2 separate regions of the Homo sapiens genome follow, and region 2 is linked to region 1. The links are contacts of gene promoters, found by promoter capture Hi-C in human tissues and cell types (Jung and others, 2019). All regions are on one chromosome and are shown on one strand. The core of a region is centred on a gene start or on the middle of the fragment in contact, and the rest is flanking DNA. Distances in the headings are between cores, read along the strand shown. Region 1 holds the start of KCNT2 (potassium sodium-activated channel subfamily T member 2). Region 2 overlaps KCNT2 (potassium sodium-activated channel subfamily T member 2).

Evidence for each region. Contacts are between HindIII fragments. The study calls those that stand out against the background at their distance.
Region 2: a contact is called between a fragment that was not itself captured here and the fragment with the promoter of KCNT2 in region 1, in 2 of the 25 tissues and cell types used here (neural progenitor cells and stomach).

What each region holds. Positions count from the first base shown.
Region 1 is chr1:196,606,623-196,611,298 of GRCh38, forward strand. KCNT2 (potassium sodium-activated channel subfamily T member 2) reads right to left here and starts at 1,818. Exons shown (of 28, transcript NM_198503.5): 1 at 1,593-1,818. The coding sequence starts at 1,687. RefSeq lists an enhancer at 2,153-2,669. The HindIII fragment of the contact is 13,382 bases long and covers 1-4,676 here.
Region 2 is chr1:196,491,256-196,495,792 of GRCh38, forward strand. It overlaps KCNT2 (potassium sodium-activated channel subfamily T member 2), which reads right to left. Exons shown (of 28, transcript NM_198503.5): 2 at 1,007-1,086. Among named protein-coding and RNA genes, the nearest start is that of MIR4735, 89 kb to the right of the region's middle. The HindIII fragment of the contact is 9,283 bases long and covers 1-4,537 here.

The DNA.
Region 1 (4,676 bases), core at 568-3,067:
CAACCACATGAAAATTAACATATTGGATATGATATTTAAAACAAACAAACAACAATACCATCACTATAACCAAAGTATGTGCTTTATGTGTTTAATCTATCTCACACTTTCTACAAAGAGGATTTCTATTCTATATAATGATCCTGAGGTCCTGAACTAAATATACATTCAGTCACTAGGAACACCATGCTACACTTACTAAGCCATTTAACCAGGCTAATGCAGTTTATCTAAATGTCAATTTGTATTACAAATTCACTTAAAAATTATTTTCTTTATCTTCAGTTTACCCAAACACTTTACAAGAATACTGAGAAATTGGTATTACTTCTTTAAATTTTTAGCCAATATGTGTGGTTTTGCCTAAAAAAGAGATTGAACCAAAATATCCTCTACAAAACATCCATCTCCTTTCAAATTACTAATATGAGACCAAACAAGATGCCCATAATTGATGCTCAAGATAAAATCCTCAGTGTGTAGAGACAGGAGTTGGTATTGGGAGCTGAAAAGGTGAAGAAAAGAAATAGAGTGTATTGGTCAGTGGTGAATGAGGAGGGGATTTTGGATTGGACCAATAATGGATCTTTTATATAACTAAAATAGCACATCAATACTAAACTAAACTTCAATGAAACATTTCAATTGAGTTGAGAACCTAGTTAGTATACATGTATTATTTTAAAACAAAGAAATGTGGCATGTGATATATGGGATGACTATTCCAGAAAATACTAAATTCGCTGAAATACAAAATGTGCTTGAGACAGAAATAGACAGAGGAATTTCAGAAGTTTGTGCAAAGCAGTAATGCTATAAATAAAACACATGAACAATATTTTGCTAACAATAAATATTCTAGTTTTGAAACTTAATTTTAATTTTGAGACATATATTCTGTTTCAGTTAAAAAAATATACTAGTTATGAAAAGGTTGTATCATGTTATACAAACATCATTATTCATAATGGTCAGAGTCACCTGTTCAAAGTGAGTATATTGTATTAAAAAGGTTGTCATTTTCACTAACTACCTGTTACATATTTAAACCAATTGTCTACTTAAAACTCCAAAATGTTTAAACAGCATAAAATTTCCAGTGCCAAGTAGATACCTACTCAAGACAACACAGACAAGGAGGAGGTAAATAGACTCAGGAGATTTTAAGTTTCTAATGTGCTTTTTCAAACAACTTGCATGCAATTTTGAGTTTGATTAACCACACCTAAGGAAAAAATGCAAATTTTCTGGAAATGATATTGCATACCATTTGGGTGTATTGTACCTCTGATACCAGCCTTATACACATCCTAGAAAAGCACAGATAGACAAAAGAATAAGCACCAAATGAATGCAATAAATACCTTGCAAGAATAAGAAAAGTGTAAAGAAAAAGAGTTCCTTATCTATAGCAACAGTTATATAGAGTCAAAATGGAGAGACAAATCAGAGTCTCTTTTACTCCCTCCCCCAGCCTAGTCTCCCTCTCTGGCTCCGTTTTCCTTTTCTCCCTCCTTTCCCCACTTCGGCCCTCCCATTTCCGTCTCTTTTTCAGCAATATTTACAGAACAATCCTCCACCACACCACTCACCTGTCGTCGTTTTGCCATCCTTGGTCCCCTAGCAGCAAATCTCGAAACCTGTACCTGGGAGGCAGAGGGGGCACTTCGCTCTCCAAATCAACCATCCTTCCTCAAAGAGTGGGAAACATCAAACAACAAATGGAGGAGAGGAGGGAGAAAGAAAGAAAATATTGCGGAGTACAGGGAGAGGACTAACAAGACGCTGTGGCCGAGAGAGGGATGGGAGAAGGGGAAGGGGACAGGGAGGGGGAGGGGGTCCGCTTGGAGCCGGAAGCTAAGGCTTGAAAGGGGGCTGGCTCCTCTTTCCCGAGGGTGTAATGGGGATGATGCAAACCCAACCCAGGAGCAAAAGTCTGGCTCTGACAAGAATCAACGCTGCCAAGGAACCGCCCCCAGGCTCGGCACCGCCTCTGGTCCCCAGGACTAGGGGGAGGCGGGTATAAAAAGTTACTTCGCCGAAAAAGACGCGCGGTGCCTAGAAAGAGGGGAGAGGGGTGGGAGTGAGCGCCGCTTGATGGTGAAGCACTTTCCTTAAAGGCAGTTGCCAGATCCTCCCAGAGGGCAGCCTCCCGGCTACTGTTCCCTCGGGCGGGCTTGCATCCGGCACAGCCCTGAGCTGGCGGGAATCGGGGGCGGTGGGTTTCGGCCCCAGACGCGGCCAACCCGGCTCTCCCCGCAATCTCCCTGTGGAGATGGAGCTGGAGGCCCAGCCAATGAGACTCCCCCTCATTAGCATAGCACAGTGACGGCACGGGGGTGCCTTGGGGACAACCAATGGGGGCGAGCTAATTAGCGGATTGCGGGGCTCCAGACCCTTCTCTGGGAGGAGGGGGGCCAGGGTGCTTGGAGTGTTCCACTATGCCACGAGCTCCCTCGCTTTGATTGCCTTCAGTCCAGGTGGGCGGGATGAAAAAATTGCACGTTTCTGGAAAGGGAATCCCCACTCTCAGCCCCAGGAAAATCCCATTTTTTTCTCACATTCTGAAAGAAGGGAGGTGTTTCCCTGAACTCGGGGAAAAAGAAGGGCCACCTTAGGCCGCTGAAGAGAAGCATTTAGATGACAGGGAAAGCACATGGAAACGCACTGAGGATTTTACAGTGGTGAGTTGCTGTTACTGCTGTCGCTGCTACTAGCAGCGTTGTGGGCTTCCAGGTGGCCTGGCCTCAGCCTTCGGTCCCCTCCTATTAGTGGTTCACACGGAGGAAGAAGTGAGCCCGAGAGAACAGGGTCTGTTTTTCAGTAAGAACCACTGCTTACATGAACCCTGCTACACAAGCTATGGTTCTATTTGCGCTTACCGTTCTTTCCTTCAAAAACTGATTGCATCAGAGTATATACAGACCGAATACCAACCACCTGACAGCCTGGGCCGGAGGATAACCATATGGCTTCTCCTGCCCTTACTTAAGAACCGCTCTGTGTGGAGGAACAAGCTTGTTCCTTGATAAATGGATACGATGTGAGAGACAATAATCAAAGAACATACAGAGGGATTTGGAAATACCTGTGAGGTACACATACTTCTTCGAGGTGGGGGTCAAGGAAGACATTGAAAATGAACCAAGCCTTCTATATTCGTTCGCAGCCTACTTTAGGGAAAAGAGCAAAGGTGAAGCAAGCAGAGAGAATAGTATGAGTAGAGGCATAGGGATTTTTTAGAATATTTGGCTTATCCAGAAAATAGTGATTAATTTGGCATGATTAATGCTCAGTAGAGGTCATGTAGCAGAGGGTTTATTTAAGAAGCTAGAAATGAAGGAAGAAATTACCAAAACTTGTAACATCAAATGAAATACAATGACTACTGAAACCTGAAGAATAGCAGTTGAAATAAAAGTCATACTGTTTGTCTCTGTCTTCAAAATCCTACTCATCCTTCCAGACCCATCTCAAATTACATATCCTCCATTAGATTTCTTGGTTTTTCCAGCTTCTTATGATGTCTTCTTCCTTTGAACCCCTTTGTTTGAACCCTTCATAACCCATGTGAGTATTTTGCCTGGAATGCTTACTATAACCTGACCCGCTATACGATTATCTGTGCGTTTTTCTTTCAACTCTTCCCCTCTCCCTGTGGCTTAGCTGCCTCTAGCACGGGACCTTCAAAATAGCCACATTTCAACAAATAGGTGTGGAGTTGCATTAAAAGCTATTAAATCTAGGAAATTAAGCATGTTTTTTTCCATCCATGCTTGCACTCCTGTGGTATGTGTTTGTTTATGAAATCATAATTTAGCACGAACTTTTGTAATTACTTTGCTAAATAAGAAAGTAATATTGCTACATTATTAGTTTATACAGATAGAGATAGAGAGAGAGATCTGGTTTATATTTTAGACCTTATCATCTCCTATTAAAATGATTCTATTAATTTTATTTGTAATGTTCCAAGTTAATATTTATAGTTACAGTCTAACTGTATTATTTGGATGACAGAAAATCTGAAATATTTACATATCATTAACAGACTAAAAATCAAGACACTGAAAAAAGAAAAAAAATAGCAATCGATTGTTAGTCCTGGGATGCTGGAGGTTAGAGGGTAAAGTAACATTTTACTTAAAAGAAAGCTATGTGCCTCTATTTTACCTTTTGTGAAAATCTTAGTCATTTGGCTTCCAAATACTCAGATAAAAGTTTAGGAGAGAACAAATAGTACATTAAAAATAAATAAATAAGAAAAAACCTACTCAGCTAATACTGTGTGCCATTATGGATACAAACTATACAAAGTAATGTGCTCAGGGCAACCAATTGGAAACTACCACATTGATGATATTTTGATTCTCTGGTGTGTCTTGAAATTGTCCAAGTGAATTTTTTTTACTATAAACTTAAGAAAATTAGAAGAATAATGTATTATAGGAAATGCTATTGATATGGTTTGGCTCTGTGTTCCCACCCAAATCTCATCTTGAATTGTACTCCTATAATTCCCATGGGTTGCAGGAGGGACCCGGTGGGAGACAATTTGAATCAAGGCAGTAATATACGCCGTACTGTTCTCATGATAGTGAATAAGTCTCGTGGGATCTGATAGTTTTATCAAGGGTTGCCGCTTTTGCATGCTCCTCATTTTCTCTTGCCACCGC
Region 2 (4,537 bases), core at 245-2,744, 120 kb before region 1:
TATTCTGAACAACCATGTTAGAAAAACATTAGTTGCTAACAGTCTTAACCTTGAGGCCAGCCTGTCATTAAGACTATCTGAGCAGTATGACTTAAATATTGAAATATTCCATATCATCAGTATTTGGACAACTTCCCACAAGTCAAGCTTCTCTCTTTGAATCCTACCTACAGAGGCACAACTTAATTTTGACAAGAGGATTTGGAGGTTAAAATTCACAGAGCTTAATGTCTACACCAACTAATGCAGGCCTCTCCATTCCCTGTGACATTGTAAGCAATGACCATAAAAAAAATTGCATATTGGTTTATTACATATGGCTTTTTAAACATATATGGCATTGTGGGAAGCAACAAGCATCAGCGGCACTCCTAACCTTGAATAGGCTCAGGAGGACAGTTACTATGCCAATTTTGTATTCTTGAAGTTCTACTTTGTTACTTTCTTACATTTGTCTGATGATAGGAATCACTGGGATGTTAAACTCTGAGATCTACCCTACACTTCCTGGCTCAAAATCTCTAGGCTAAGAAAGATAGGAATCTGTATATTTCAGTGCAACCTAGATGTTTCTTATTATTTGGAATGATTAGGAAATATTAAACGTTCCCTTCCCTAAATCAGACAATTGTTTCCCATTGTGGTCTGTCAGAGCTTTTTGAAAATACGATATTTAGAGTTAAAATGGAAGGACCCTCATTTAAATTATTTTCCTCAATGTTTATACTAATCCAGATAGTCCACTCAGAAGTCTACTTATTAACATGGAATTTGGAGAATTGAAGATGTTCAAGAAGCATTAATATCACTATATGTAGTGCCTATACTTTTCTAAAATGTTACCACCTGCTGGAAAAAATAACCAATTTTATTCCTCTACCACCTGCTGGAAAAAATAACCAATTTTATTCCTCTATCTAAAAAGTATTTTGCAAAAGATCACACAGTTGAAATATTTTGAAGTAAATATATGTACGAACAGAGGGGAATGAAATGAATAACTTACTTGATCTCTGGTTTTTTATGAAAAATAATTTTAGTCTTTCTTTAAATGTATTTTCATTCATATAGAATTCAACTTGTACCCTGCAAACAGAAAATAAAAACATGTAAATGTATGCAAGCAACCATATCTTTATTTTCATGAAGATCAACAAATATAAATTGATCTGTAGTTCTCTAACTTAAAGAATAATACATTTTTGAAATAAATTATTTGATTTAATGCATTATGTATTTTAGTAAATTCCCTGCCATGGAAAATGAGAACTGAGTAAAGTACTGATTTAGAGAGAAGCAATTATTTTCTACTTTTAAAGATAGAATCATTTTAAATATTATACATAGTCAATTCAATTATTTGTATTAATGAATATAATGAGTGGCATGGATTATTCAAAACAGCAATAATGCAAAAGTCTTTAATATGTGTGTTTGAAATGGGTTTGAATCAGTGCTTTCCCCATTTTTTTCCCTGCTGTAAGAATTAACTGACGTTTGAAAAATTCAGTCTGGGCACCACCGTGCCAGATCTACTTATTCAGAATTTTAAAGGGCAGGGCCTAATAATCAATTCTTCACTACACCTATAGCCTATTTAGGACACCACACTCTGTAACACTTTACCTTCCTACTTATGGATCAACCAAGAAGTAGCAGTGGCAAATAGAACTGTTAAGGTTACCACAGATAGATTATAAAGCAAACAACTCAATTAATAGACTACATATTGTATATTTGATCCACTATACAATAATATCAACAGTCTAAAATAATAGCAGTACTTTAATAAATACTCTAAATTCTAGCAAACAGTCTCCCTTTGATAAGGCACAATTAATATTTTCAAAATACTAAGTGAAAAGAGAAATCTTGTTCAGTGCAAGGTAACTTGTAAATAATACTCAATTTCCTTAATCAGTCTCAAATATATTCATTATGAGTTAGAATTTCAAAAACAGCTAAGAATGGATTTTAATGTTTACGCAAAAACAAATATTTAATTTCATTTTTCCTAATATGGTAACATTTTGAAAATGTAATTCATGTAAGCCAGATAAGGTTTGGGGGTCTTTTTTTTGGGGGGGAGATTTTTGGTTTTGTTTTTTTTGCAAGAGTAGATACCTTAGAGAAAACTAGGAGAAAAAAAAAACAACTGACATTACAAAGCTGCTCATGCATTTGAGAAATAGTTCACTACTATATTATCTCATAAACCCTCTACTACCCTGTTTATTCAAGGAAAACCATGAATAGTTTTAAAGCAGTTTATTGTGTCACAAAAGCAACAGGGCATTTTTTTTAATTTTATTATACTTTAAGTTCTGAGATACATGTGCAGAACGTGCAGGTTTGTTACATGGGTATACACATGCCATGTGTATGGTTTGCTGCATCCATCAATCTGTCATCTACATTAGGTATTTCTCCTAATGCTATCCCTTCCCCAGGCCCCATTGTGTGATGTTACCCTCAACAGGGCATTTTTAAAATTAATTACGAATCAAGCTGTATGTGTTGTATCTTCTAAAATACTTGAATGTTCTTTTATATCTTCTCTCTAAAGAATATATTTCTATTTTTATTTCCTCGTTATCATATTCTGACTTACTTTGTTTTTTCTTCACCTTATATATTAAATGAAATTGTTTTAAAGTAAGCAAGATTCTCTTTAGTTAATACCTTCTCCAGACTAGAAGTTGGAAAAGTTCTCTAGAAGTTCTAAAGAAGCCACTAAAATGGCAATGATATCTTTTAGCAGAACATTTCCATCTGTATGCCCATGCACATGTGCACACCCTACACATCTACGTACATATACATACTACAAAAGTCCATGCACACACATACAGAAACAAAACTTCATCGGTGTCTTGGAAATGCATTATTGGACGTGTTTCCCTTGTTTATCAAATGAAAAGTCAGTTCATTTTAAATATAGTAACTGTAAATAGTGAGATAAAGCTAAACTAGTTGAAATTTGTTATGGCTACATAAACAAATTTGAGAGGACAATACGGCTATTACACAAATAATTCAGCAAAGGCCATGCAGATTTGCTTCCTAGAATTACCAAATTTATAAGAATGAGTCCATTTTTCAGATAATATTGGAGTTCAGTACTGGGTATGTAACAGAGGAGCCTTTTTTTGTTGTTTTTTGGTGACGGAGTCTGGCTCTGTCGCCCAGGCTGGAGTGCAGTGGCGCGATCTCAGCTCACTGCAAGCTCCACCTCCCGGGTTCACGCCATTCTTCTCCTCAGCCTCTCCAGTAGCCGGGACTACAGGCGCCAGCCACCATGCCGTGTTAGTCAGGATGGTCTCAATTTCCTGACCTCGTGATCCGCCCACCTCAGCCTCCCAAAGTGCCGGGATTACAGGCGCAGAGGAGCATTTTTTAACTGAAATGAGATCATCTAAAGCCTTAACAAAAATAATGAGGAATCTGGAAAACATACCACATATGGAAAAGGTAGGCGAAACTAGAAAGAATTCGTAATTATGAAGAGTTAGGAGTCACCGTTGTCTTTAAATATTTCAGTTACCAACATTATTAAAATGGAATGACACATAATGTGATTCTCTATTAAATAGAATATTAGATAAATGCACGAATTACGAATGAGAATTATCCAACTTTGAAATGGCCATCAATGTGGAGAGCTCTCCAATACCTATAAATGTGCCAAAGGCTGGACAACAGCATGCGAGCCACTGGCTTTTTTTTTTTTCCTGAGAGCAAAGGCAATTTTGCATGGTGTGAAGTCTCTCATTAAATAATTTCCTAATCCCAATCTAATTATCAAATTATGTGAAGTAAAACTCTTAATGAATCTGGCGATCTCTCTGAGTCAATATAATCATTGAGAAACATGGATTATATTAAAACATGAAATTATACAACTTTTATTTAAAGCCAAAATGCAAGCAAAATGTTTTTTGATACATGACTTATACTGGGCACAGAAAATGTCCTTTAGGCTTACTGGTTACAGTATAAAGTAGAGCTTTTTTTTTTTTAATTTGATTTAATGATAACTCTTTCTAGCAGCAAGGCATGTTAGTGACAGCGTGTACTTTTGAGACCTTCCTCAGCACCAGTTTTTTAGCACCCAGGTATTTAGTTCAGAGTTTAGTGGTTACCCTTCCCAAAGTTTTTCATGATTTAACTTATTTTAAATATAATCTCACCGCTTCCTTTTTCAAGTTTAAACTGGTTTCATCTCCTCCCTCCATTCCTTCCTCCCTCCTTTCCTTCCTTTAATCTTGCCTCCCTCTCTTCCTTCTTTTCTTCTGACCTCCCTACCTCCATCTAACTTTATCTGAATTTACTTACATCTAGTAGACTATGTTAGTGTAATCTTTCGTGTACTCTTACACTAAGTTAGTGTACTCTTTCTGGACCTTCCCCAGAACCACAGAGTTTTGATTTATGGCAAATCTGCTCTCATCACTTTTTAAGATGTCATTTTTGTCAAAGGCTTATACAAAAGTTAAAATTTAAAGTAATTTTGTTACATTTATTCAAATACCATAAT